Regions from separate parts of the Homo sapiens genome. Here region 2 is linked to region 1. The links are contacts of gene promoters, found by promoter capture Hi-C in blood cells and fetal thymus (Javierre and others, 2016). All regions are on one chromosome and are shown on one strand. The core of a region is centred on a gene start or on the middle of the fragment in contact, and the rest is flanking DNA. Distances in the headings are between cores, read along the strand shown. Region 1 holds the start of CCR7 (C-C motif chemokine receptor 7). Region 2 holds the start of GJD3 (gap junction protein delta 3).

The links. Contacts are between HindIII fragments. The CHiCAGO score rates a contact against its expected background, and 5 or more counts as called.
Region 2: the fragment with the promoter of GJD3 here is called in contact with the fragment with the promoter of CCR7 in region 1 in 15 of 17 cell types (megakaryocytes, fetal thymus, erythroblasts and 12 more); the score reaches 16.3 in megakaryocytes.

What each region holds. Positions count from the first base shown.
Region 1 is chr17:40,563,452-40,567,897 of GRCh38, forward strand. CCR7 (C-C motif chemokine receptor 7) reads right to left here and starts at 2,021. Exons shown (of 3, transcript NM_001838.4): 1 at 1,949-2,021. The coding sequence starts at 1,958. RefSeq lists an enhancer at 660-1,576. The HindIII fragment of the contact is 7,070 bases long and covers 197-4,446 here.
Region 2 is chr17:40,362,067-40,366,512 of GRCh38, forward strand. It overlaps GJD3 (gap junction protein delta 3), which reads right to left and starts at 2,671. Exons shown (of 1, transcript NM_152219.4): 1 at 1-2,671. The coding sequence starts at 1,749. The coding sequence ends at 865. It overlaps GJD3-AS1 (GJD3 antisense RNA 1), which reads left to right and starts at 779. Exons shown (of 1, transcript NR_186704.1): 1 at 779-3,369. RefSeq lists an enhancer at 591-885 and silencers at 713-782, 903-982, 1,013-1,122. The HindIII fragment of the contact is 7,280 bases long and covers 1-4,446 here.

The DNA of each region.
Region 1 (4,446 bases), core at 771-3,270:
GAGGGTGCCTCAGAGCTGCTCATTCAAACCGTGAAAAAGGCCAGCTCAGCCCTGCTTGGGAGTTTTCATTTTGTGTAACAGAAACCCTCCCTCCTCACCCACCTCTTGCTCCTTGCTGGGCAGATGAAGAGCAGAACAACAGATCCTCCAAGGCCCACCCACCCCATCAACGGCCCAGAGAGCCCGTTTTGAGTAAAGCTTGTCAGCGGCTTCCCCTCCTACCAGTATTTCGGGTTTGACCGTTGGGGCTCTCTCAAGTTGAGTGAAGTGGCAAGAATATCCCTTCTTCCTGGACCAGAGATTACCCTCTCTCCCTGCATCAAAGCCTAGGAGTCTAGCACCCCTAAACCTAGTCTGGGGTAAGACACTCTGCACATCTTCCCAACCCCCTGTTCAGTCATGTAGATGGCTTGAAATCAATCAGCCAGGGTGGGAGAATTTACACCATGGAAATTGGCAAGCACTACAAATTCAGGACTTTCCCTCCACCCTGGAGTCAGCTACCAGTGCTCCACCCCGGGGAGCTGCTTTTCAAATGCCCAGTAGCACACCACTGGGCACTGCTTGGTTTCCTTCCTGGAGGCCAGTATGAAAGGCTGGAGCAGGGTCTTCTGTGGGTGACGTCTGTACTGTGGGATTGTGATGGGGGGTGGTGGAGGGGGTGCAGGGGAGTGGGATTTAAGGGTAGATTGGCTGGGAAATGAGGCATTTGGAAGAGATTTTCAAAAACTAAACTCTACGGAGTTCTTGATACGGTGTATTCATTCATTCCGCAGACATTTTCTCCTCACATCCTCAAAGCACCTGAACCTGCCTTTCAGGAGTTCACAGTCAGTGGGTGGGGTGACCACTTTAACCCTTTCACAGCTGTTTGCTGGGTCCAGATCCAGCGTTCAGGGCAGGCGGGAAAGTAAGAGATGAAATCAAGGAGGCTGTGGTGTGGCGAGGAGGGGTGTGAGGACAGCACCAGGGAACCTTCACTTTTTAAAGCCAACCCTTTGCGGCTTTGAGGCCGCCGTGGTGCATTGTTTGCTGGTGAGACAAGCCATCTAGGAACCTGGTCTTCTTAGCCTCAGCCTGGTCTGACTCCACAGCTGAGATTTATAAAGGGGGCGTCTGGAGCTGGATGAACCACTCAGAACACCCTCAGTGCTTCCCCTTGACCCCTTCTAGGTTAGACCTGAGAAAGGGCTTTCTAAAGAGTAGAGTTATCTGCCGGGGCAGAGTGCGTGAGGTTTGCTCAGGGGCAGGGGCTGTGCTGAAGGCCTGGCTATGATTTCTCCAAGCTGAGTGCCCCTTGCCATCCCATTCCATGTTGCCTGCCCGTTCCTTAACTTGCAAGAGGCAACAGCAAAGCCAGATCAAAGCAGGTGGGATGTGCAGCAGAGAGAAAGCAACCAGAGCTTGCATTTGCAATGCACCGCACCATTCTCACAACCCAGTCACGTTTCATTTGCATCTCCTCATGACCCCAAGTGGACAGGTATATGAATATTTGGCAGGGGAGAAAGGTGGGAATCAGAGAGTGGGTAAAAGGTCCTAAGCTCTCTAGGGAGAATTTCTCTGTTGAAACCTGTCCCCAGAGGTCCCAGAGGGCCTAACCTATCACCCTCATGATGAGAACAGGTTCTGCCAGACCACCAAGCCCAGCCCCGCCACTCTCTTATGTCCCTGCTGTTTTAGAAAGACATGATCTCGGCCCCTCCCTTGTCCCCACTGGCACCAAAGGCTGACCCCTTCTCCAGGTCTGAAAGGGCAGGTGCACCCCTCCTGGGACAGCAGGGGGCATTCTCTGGAAGTAGCTTCCAATGCCCACCAAATCAGAACTGATTTCTCCAGGAAGCACCCCTATGCGCTCCACCCGCATCCTCCACCCCCATTCCACAGGGTCAGTCTGGGTGTCCAAGACCCTGGTACTGTTCCTTCTCACATGAAGAGGCTCACTCACCCAGGTCCATGACGCTCTCTGGGCGGTAAAACCACACAGGAAGGCTGTGCCCGGCCTCGCACTACCCCTGTCTGGGGAGGAAGTGGTTCAAGCCCCTTTTAAGTTGTCGGAGAAGCCACCCTCTTCCCTGCCCCTCCCACCCTTGCTCCTCCCCCCAGCCCTCCCTGACTCATGCAGGGCCCCTTCAATGCCTTCAGAGATAAAGGGGCAGAAGAAAGGTGACAGAGGGTGACAGTCGCTGGTCATAGGATCCTGAATCATTAGGTCATTTACATTCAAAAAGCCCCCTGCGCTGCCTGGCAGAATCTAGATGAGGGGCCATTTACTGATTCAACAAATATTTATAGCATGAATATCACATGCCAGGCCATGGGTTAGATGTTGGGGAGTCAGAGATGTGTGAGAGAAGTGTCCCCATCCTTCCCTTGCTCTGCTCAGTGTCACAGTGGAATATAGTCCCAAATGGCTTTCCCTCTGGCTTCTGGGTAGTTTAGGCCAATGGGAGGCACTGACACATAATGACAGGTAAAAGGGAAGAGATATGCCACGATGTATCTTTTTTCTCCCCCCTTCCCCTCCCCTCCCCTCCCTCCCCTTTCCCTCTTCTCCCCTCCCTTCCTTTTCCTTTCTTAATGACAGCTTTATTGAGCTATAATCCACATCCCATAAAATTTACCTTTTTAAAGTATAGAATTCAATGGTTTTTGTATGTTCACAGAGTTATGCAACCATCACCACAATACATTTTAGAACATTTTTTCTCACTCCCTCTCAAGAACCCTGTAATCACTAGCAATGACTGCTCCCCTCCCCTCCTGTCATCGAAAGCCCCTGGCAACCACAAATCTACTTTCTGGCTCTATAGATTTTCCTATTCTGAACATTTCACATAAATAGAAGTATCAATATGTGACCTTCACATCTGGCTTCTTTCAGTTAGTGTTTTCAAGGTTACCTATGTGGTGGTATGGATCCATTCCCCATTCCTTTTTATGGCTGAATAACATTCCATTGTATGGATATGCCACATTTTGTTTGTCTGTCATCAGTTGGATGTTTGGGCTGTTTTCCCTTTTAGCTATTATGAATGATGCTGCTATAAATATTTATGTGCAAGTGTTTGTGTGGACATATGCTTTATTTCTCTTGGGTATATACCTAGAAGTGAAATTGTTGAGTCATATGGTAATTATATATTTAACATTTTGACGAACTATCAAACTGTTTTCCAAAGTGACTACACCATTTTGTTCCCATCAACAATGCGTGAGGGTTCCACATTGTCAACAAAACTTACTATTGTCCATTCTTTTGATTCTAGCCATCCTAGTGGCTGTAAAGTGGTATCTCATTGTGTTTTTTTTCTTTTTTCTTTTTTTTTTTTGGAGATGGAGTCTTACTCTGTTGCACAGGCTGGAGTGCAGTGGCACGATCTTGGCTTACTGCAGTCTCCACCTCCTGGGTTCAAGTGATTCTCCTGCCTCAGCCTCCCAAGTAGCTGGGACTACAGGCACGTGCCACCATGCCTGGCTAATTTTTGTATTTTTAGTAGAAACGGGGTTTCACCATGTTGGCCAAGCTGGTCTCAAACTCCTAACCTAAGGTGATCTGCCAGCCTCGGCCTCCCAAAGTGCTGGGATTGCAGGCATGAGCCACCATGCCCGGCCTCTTTGTAGTTTTGATATGCGTTTTCCTAATGACTACCTATGCTGAGCATCTTTTCATGCTCTTATTGACCATTTGTATTATTTTTTGAGAAATTTCTATTCAAATCCTTTGCCCATTTAAAAAATTGGGTTATTTATTTTTTATTATTGAGTTGTAAGACTTCTTTATATATTCTGGTTACAATCCCTTATCTGATACATATCTGTAAATATTTTCTCCCTTACTATGGATCATCTTTTCACTTTCTTGATAGCGTCCTTTGAAGCACAAAGGCTTTTTGTTTTTTAAAACCTGAATCTCTGGCAAAAGAAGCGCAAAGTTTTAAATGTGGAGGTTCAATTGATTTATTTTTCTTTTGTCAATTGTGTCTTTGGTGCCATATCTAAGAAACCATTGCATAATTCAAGTATACAAAGATTTATTCGTATATGTTCTTTTAAGACTTTTATAGTTTTAGCTGCAACATTTAGATCTGATCCATTTTGAGCTAATTGTTGCATATGGTGTGAGGTAGGGATCCAGCTTCATTTTTTATATGGATATCTAGTTTTCCCAGCATCATTTGTTGAAAAGACTATTTTTTCCACCATTGAACTGTCTTAGCACCTCTGTTGGAAATCAATTCATCATAAATGTAATGGTTTATTTCTAGACTATCAATTCTATTTTATCAATCTCTGTGTCTGTCCTATGACAGTACCACACTGTCTCGATTACTGTAGCTTTATAGCAAATTTTGAAATTGGGAGTTGTGACTGCTCCAACTTTATCTGTCTTTTTAAACATTGTTTGACTAATCTGCATCTCTCTCTTTTCCATATGAATTTTAG
Region 2 (4,446 bases), core at 1,421-3,920, 200 kb before region 1:
GCTGGGTTAGGGTGGTAGGGAGGGAGCCATTGTGGCTGCAGCTGGCATCGGATCCTGGCCACCCCCGCAGTGCATATCAGAGATCACACACACACGCGTGCACACACAGAGGTCACGCCGGATGTACACATGCACACATAGCGCACAAGGATGTTTCTGTGTACAGGTGTGCACACGCAGCCCACACAGAATGGACATGTGCGTGTGTGCACAATGCACTCACACAAAGCTCACAGGGATGTGAGTACACAGCTCTCAAGGGGCATATGTTTCTGTGTGCATGTGCACACAGCTCACCCGGGAGGGTTACGTGTGTCTGTGTGCACAAGTGGGCCTCACGCAGGGTGTACACATGCGCGCACATGCACAGCGCTCACACAGGGTGTACAGGTGCGCGTGCACACAGCTCACAGTGCTTATGTGTCCGTGTATGCACACTCGCAGAGAGCCCACAGGGGGACCACTCTCTCTCTGAACACAGAGAGTGCCTGAGAATGCTGGCATCACAGTTGTTTTTGTCCCCAGTAAAACAACCACTCTCCACCTTCCGCTCTGTTCTCCCCCTCGGGTCCACTCTCTCTCAGGGTCCTGGTCTCCTTCCTTTCCACCTGGGTGGTGGCATCCAGGACCTGCCTGAGTTCATTCTCCGCCCCCAGCCCGGCCTGCCCCAGGTGCCGCCGGCAGCCACTGGGAGGCAGTACGAGGCAAGTGCGATGCCGCCCGCGGGCCGTCCCCACAACGCGTCTCCTGCCGGGGCAGGTCCCGCGACAGCTCTGGTGGAAGCAGCTTCCGGCTTCTGCGGTGCGGGCGGAGGTGGCGGGGTCCGGCCCTCGCCGTCCAGTCCGCGCGAGGCGGTGCCCGCCCCTAGATGGCCAGATCTCGGCGGCCGGTGGCCGGTGACGCCTTGCCGCGGCCGCTGCCGCACTCGCGGAGGCTGGCCGGCGCCGGGTGCGCATAGGCCGGCGGGGCGCACGGCTCGGGGCCGGGGCGCCGGGAGGGCAGGGCCGGTGGCGGAGGTGGCGGCGGCGGCGGCGGGAGCAGCTTCTGCGCCTCTTCGTGTGCACGGTTGCAGCGGTTGTCACGCTCCCCGGCGCGCGGGCGGCCCTTCCAGAGCAGGTGGCCCAGCTCGGCTACGCTGAGCAGCGCCGACAGCAGCCCCACCGCGAAATAGAAGAGCACGAAGACGGTCTTCTCGGTGGGCCGGCTCACGAAGCAGTCGACCGTGTGCGGGCAGGGCGGACCGGCGCACGCGAAGTGCGGGGCCACGCGGAAGCCGTAGAGCAGCGCCTGGCCGCCCAGGAAGGTCAGCTCGGCCAGCAGGCGCAGCGCCACGCTCAGCAGGTAGCAGCGGCGCGCGCGGCGGGCGCGCAGGGCGCACGGCGCGCACTGGGCCTCGGGCAGTCCGGGGGCGCACTGCGCCGCCGCCTCAGCGCCGCCCGCCTCCTTGCCTGCCCGGTGCATGGAGTAGACGACGAACAGCACCGGGGGCGCCGAGAGCAGCAGGATGTGGAAGAGCCAGAAGCGGTAGTGGGAGACCGGGAAGGCGCGGTCGTAGCAGGTCTGGCGACAGCCCGGCTGCAGCGTGTTGCACACGAACTCCTCTTGCTCGTCCTCGAACACGGCGCCGCCCACCGTGGCCAGCACCAGGATGCGGAAGATCAGCATGACCACCAGCCAGAGGCGGCCCACGAGCGGCGACTGCAGCTGCACGGCGTCCAGCAGCGAGCCCAGGAACGCCCACTCCCCCATGGCGCTGGGGACGCGGGGCGGGGAGTCAGGGGATGGGGCAAGTCAGGGACCCCTGCCCCTTCCAAGCCTATCGGGGTGGGGTCCGTTGGACCTTCTCTGACTTCAGGGTGAGTCGTGAGGTAGGAGAGGCCCGGGTTTAGCGATGAGACCAGTATGAAACGGAGGGCCACGGGAGGGCCCGAGGGGAGCAGGCGACGCTCAGCTATGGGTTACCTTCTCTTTGGGACCGATGGGTGCTGGGGAGGATCCCCCATTTGCATTTTAGCCGCACCCCCTGAGCCGTCTCCGTTCGACCCTGGGATCCTCCAGATCCCAGATTCTTAGGAAGGACCTTGGAGATCAGCTGGACCAGCCCCTGACTTGCCTGGTTTCGGAAGCGGAAACCCAGCGGTGCCCTTAGCTGTCAAGGATGCTGTGGGAAGAGTGGAGCCTCGAACCCGAGACGCTAGACCCAATTTGGTGCCCATGGGAGGAGTGGGAGTGGCAGAGGCAGCGAGACCACTCCTTTCTTGGCCCACCATTTCTCTCACCATTTTTACTGCAGTGAACTCCTCTCAGGGTGGGGGGCTGGTACAGAGGCAACTCCGCTTTCATAACTCTCACAGGGTCCTTTGTCGGAGGTGTCCCTGCCCTCCTACCCCAGCGTGGTGGGAGTGCGACGCCAGGCTTCTCCCTCCTCCCTGGCCTCCTGTGCCTCCAGCCTCCACATCTCCTGAGATCCTCCCCACCCCACACTTACACAGGTCCCCACACGCCCCTGGTGCCCCTAAACCGCCACCCAACCCCACTCACCCTGGGGCCGGGACTGGGGTGTCAGAGCTGAGCCAGGGACCTTGGGAGGTGGCTGGGACCGGCGCCTCCTGCTCCCTCTTTCATTTTCCCTTTCGGATTTGGCCAGGATGGAGGACAGGACAGGATGGCTGAGAGGGGCTAGCGCTCCCCCTTCTCTTAAAGGAACAGGGTGACCCTGCTGGCTGGCTCCGCCCTTGGGAACAGGCACGGACCACGCCCCTTGCTGGGCTCTGTGGCCCTCACTCTTTAGCTAAATTTCCATCTGGAAATGGGGGAGGGGGGTAACCAGAGCCACATCCTTTATCGAGGAAGCTGGGGGATTCCTAGAAGCCCTTCCCAGACAGACCCTCAGTCTGGAGCCTAGATCCACTACGCACTAACCATGCCCTGTGAAGATGGTCTTCGGGGACAGAGGGAGGTTTGGTGCTGGAGTTTAAGGGGCAGCAAACATCTAACAGCTTCTGGTTCCAGCTCTGCCACCGCTCACCTTGGACAAATCATTCGGCGGTACTGAGCCAGGCTTTCCTGCCTTGTCAACAAAGGCGGCCAGTCCAGCTGACCCCCAAGTTTCCTTCCAGCTTTACATCTTTTTTGGAACGGGGTCTCTCTACATAGCCCAGGTCGATCTTGAACTCCTGGCTTCAAGTGATCCTCACACCTTAGCCTCCTGAGTAGCTGGGATTCTCTACTTCTTAATATTGAATTCCCAACCATATTACAGAGAACCAAAAAAACCCTTGTGCCTGCAAAAAAAAAAAAAAAAAAAAAAATCCCATATGGAAAACCATTAAAATATCCCAAGTGCCTGGCTTTGATAGTTAAATAAAATCTTTGGTTTCCTTCCCACTTTTCTGTTATTTCCAGCTTTACTATAATGAACATGTTATTTATTTATTTATTTTTAATTTGTTTGTTTTGAGATGGAGTCTAGCTCTGTCGCCCAGGCTGGAGTGCAGTGGCATGATCTTGGCTGAATGCAACCTCCGCCTCCCGGGTTCAAGCGATTCTCCTGCCTCAGCCTCCCCAGTAGCTGGGATTACAGGTGTGCGCCACCACGCCCGGCTAATTTTTGTATTTTTAGTAGAGGTGGGGTTTCGCCATGTTGACCAGGCTGATCTCGAACTCTTGACCTCAAACAATCCGCCTATCTCAGCCTCCCAAAGTGCCGGGATTACAGGCGTGAGCTACCACACCCGGCCTAACATGTTATTTTATTATTTATTTATTTATTTATTTATTGAGACAGAGTTTTGCTCTTGTTGCCCAGGCTGGAGTGCAGTGGTGTGATCTCAGCTCACCGCAACCTCCTCCTCCCGGGTTCAAGCGATTCTCCTGCCTCAGCCTCCTGAATAGCTGGGATTACAGGCATGTGCCACCATGCCCAGCTAATTTTGTATTTTTAATAGAGACAGGATCTCTCCATGTTGGTCAGGCTGGTCTCGAAATCCTGACCTCAGGTGATCCACCTGCCTCGGCCTCCCAAAGTGCTGGGATTACAGGCTTGAGTCACCGCGCCCGGCCTCATGTTATTTTATAATGTGAAAAATAGGACTTTTTCCCCCCAGAAGGCTCTGAATTGAGAGTTCCCTCCTACTGCCCTGGGTGGCGGGGGAAGCTGTTTTATGGAGAAGGGAGTAAGGGTGACCGACGGTGATCTGAGTGGTCAGGGAGGGGACACTCCAGGCTGAGATGTTTGGTTGTCTGCTCTGCCTTCCTAGGGGTCCGCCTGAGTGCATAGCAAAACCCGCTTCACCTATGCACCTGCTGGGCCAGTCCCCGTGTGGAACCCCGTTAGCTCCATATGCCAATGAGCTCATTCGATTCTCTGTCAATGGTGGCATGAGGGCACTATTTACACCAGGGGAAACTGAGACTCAGAGGGTCTAAGCCACTTGCCTGCTGTCG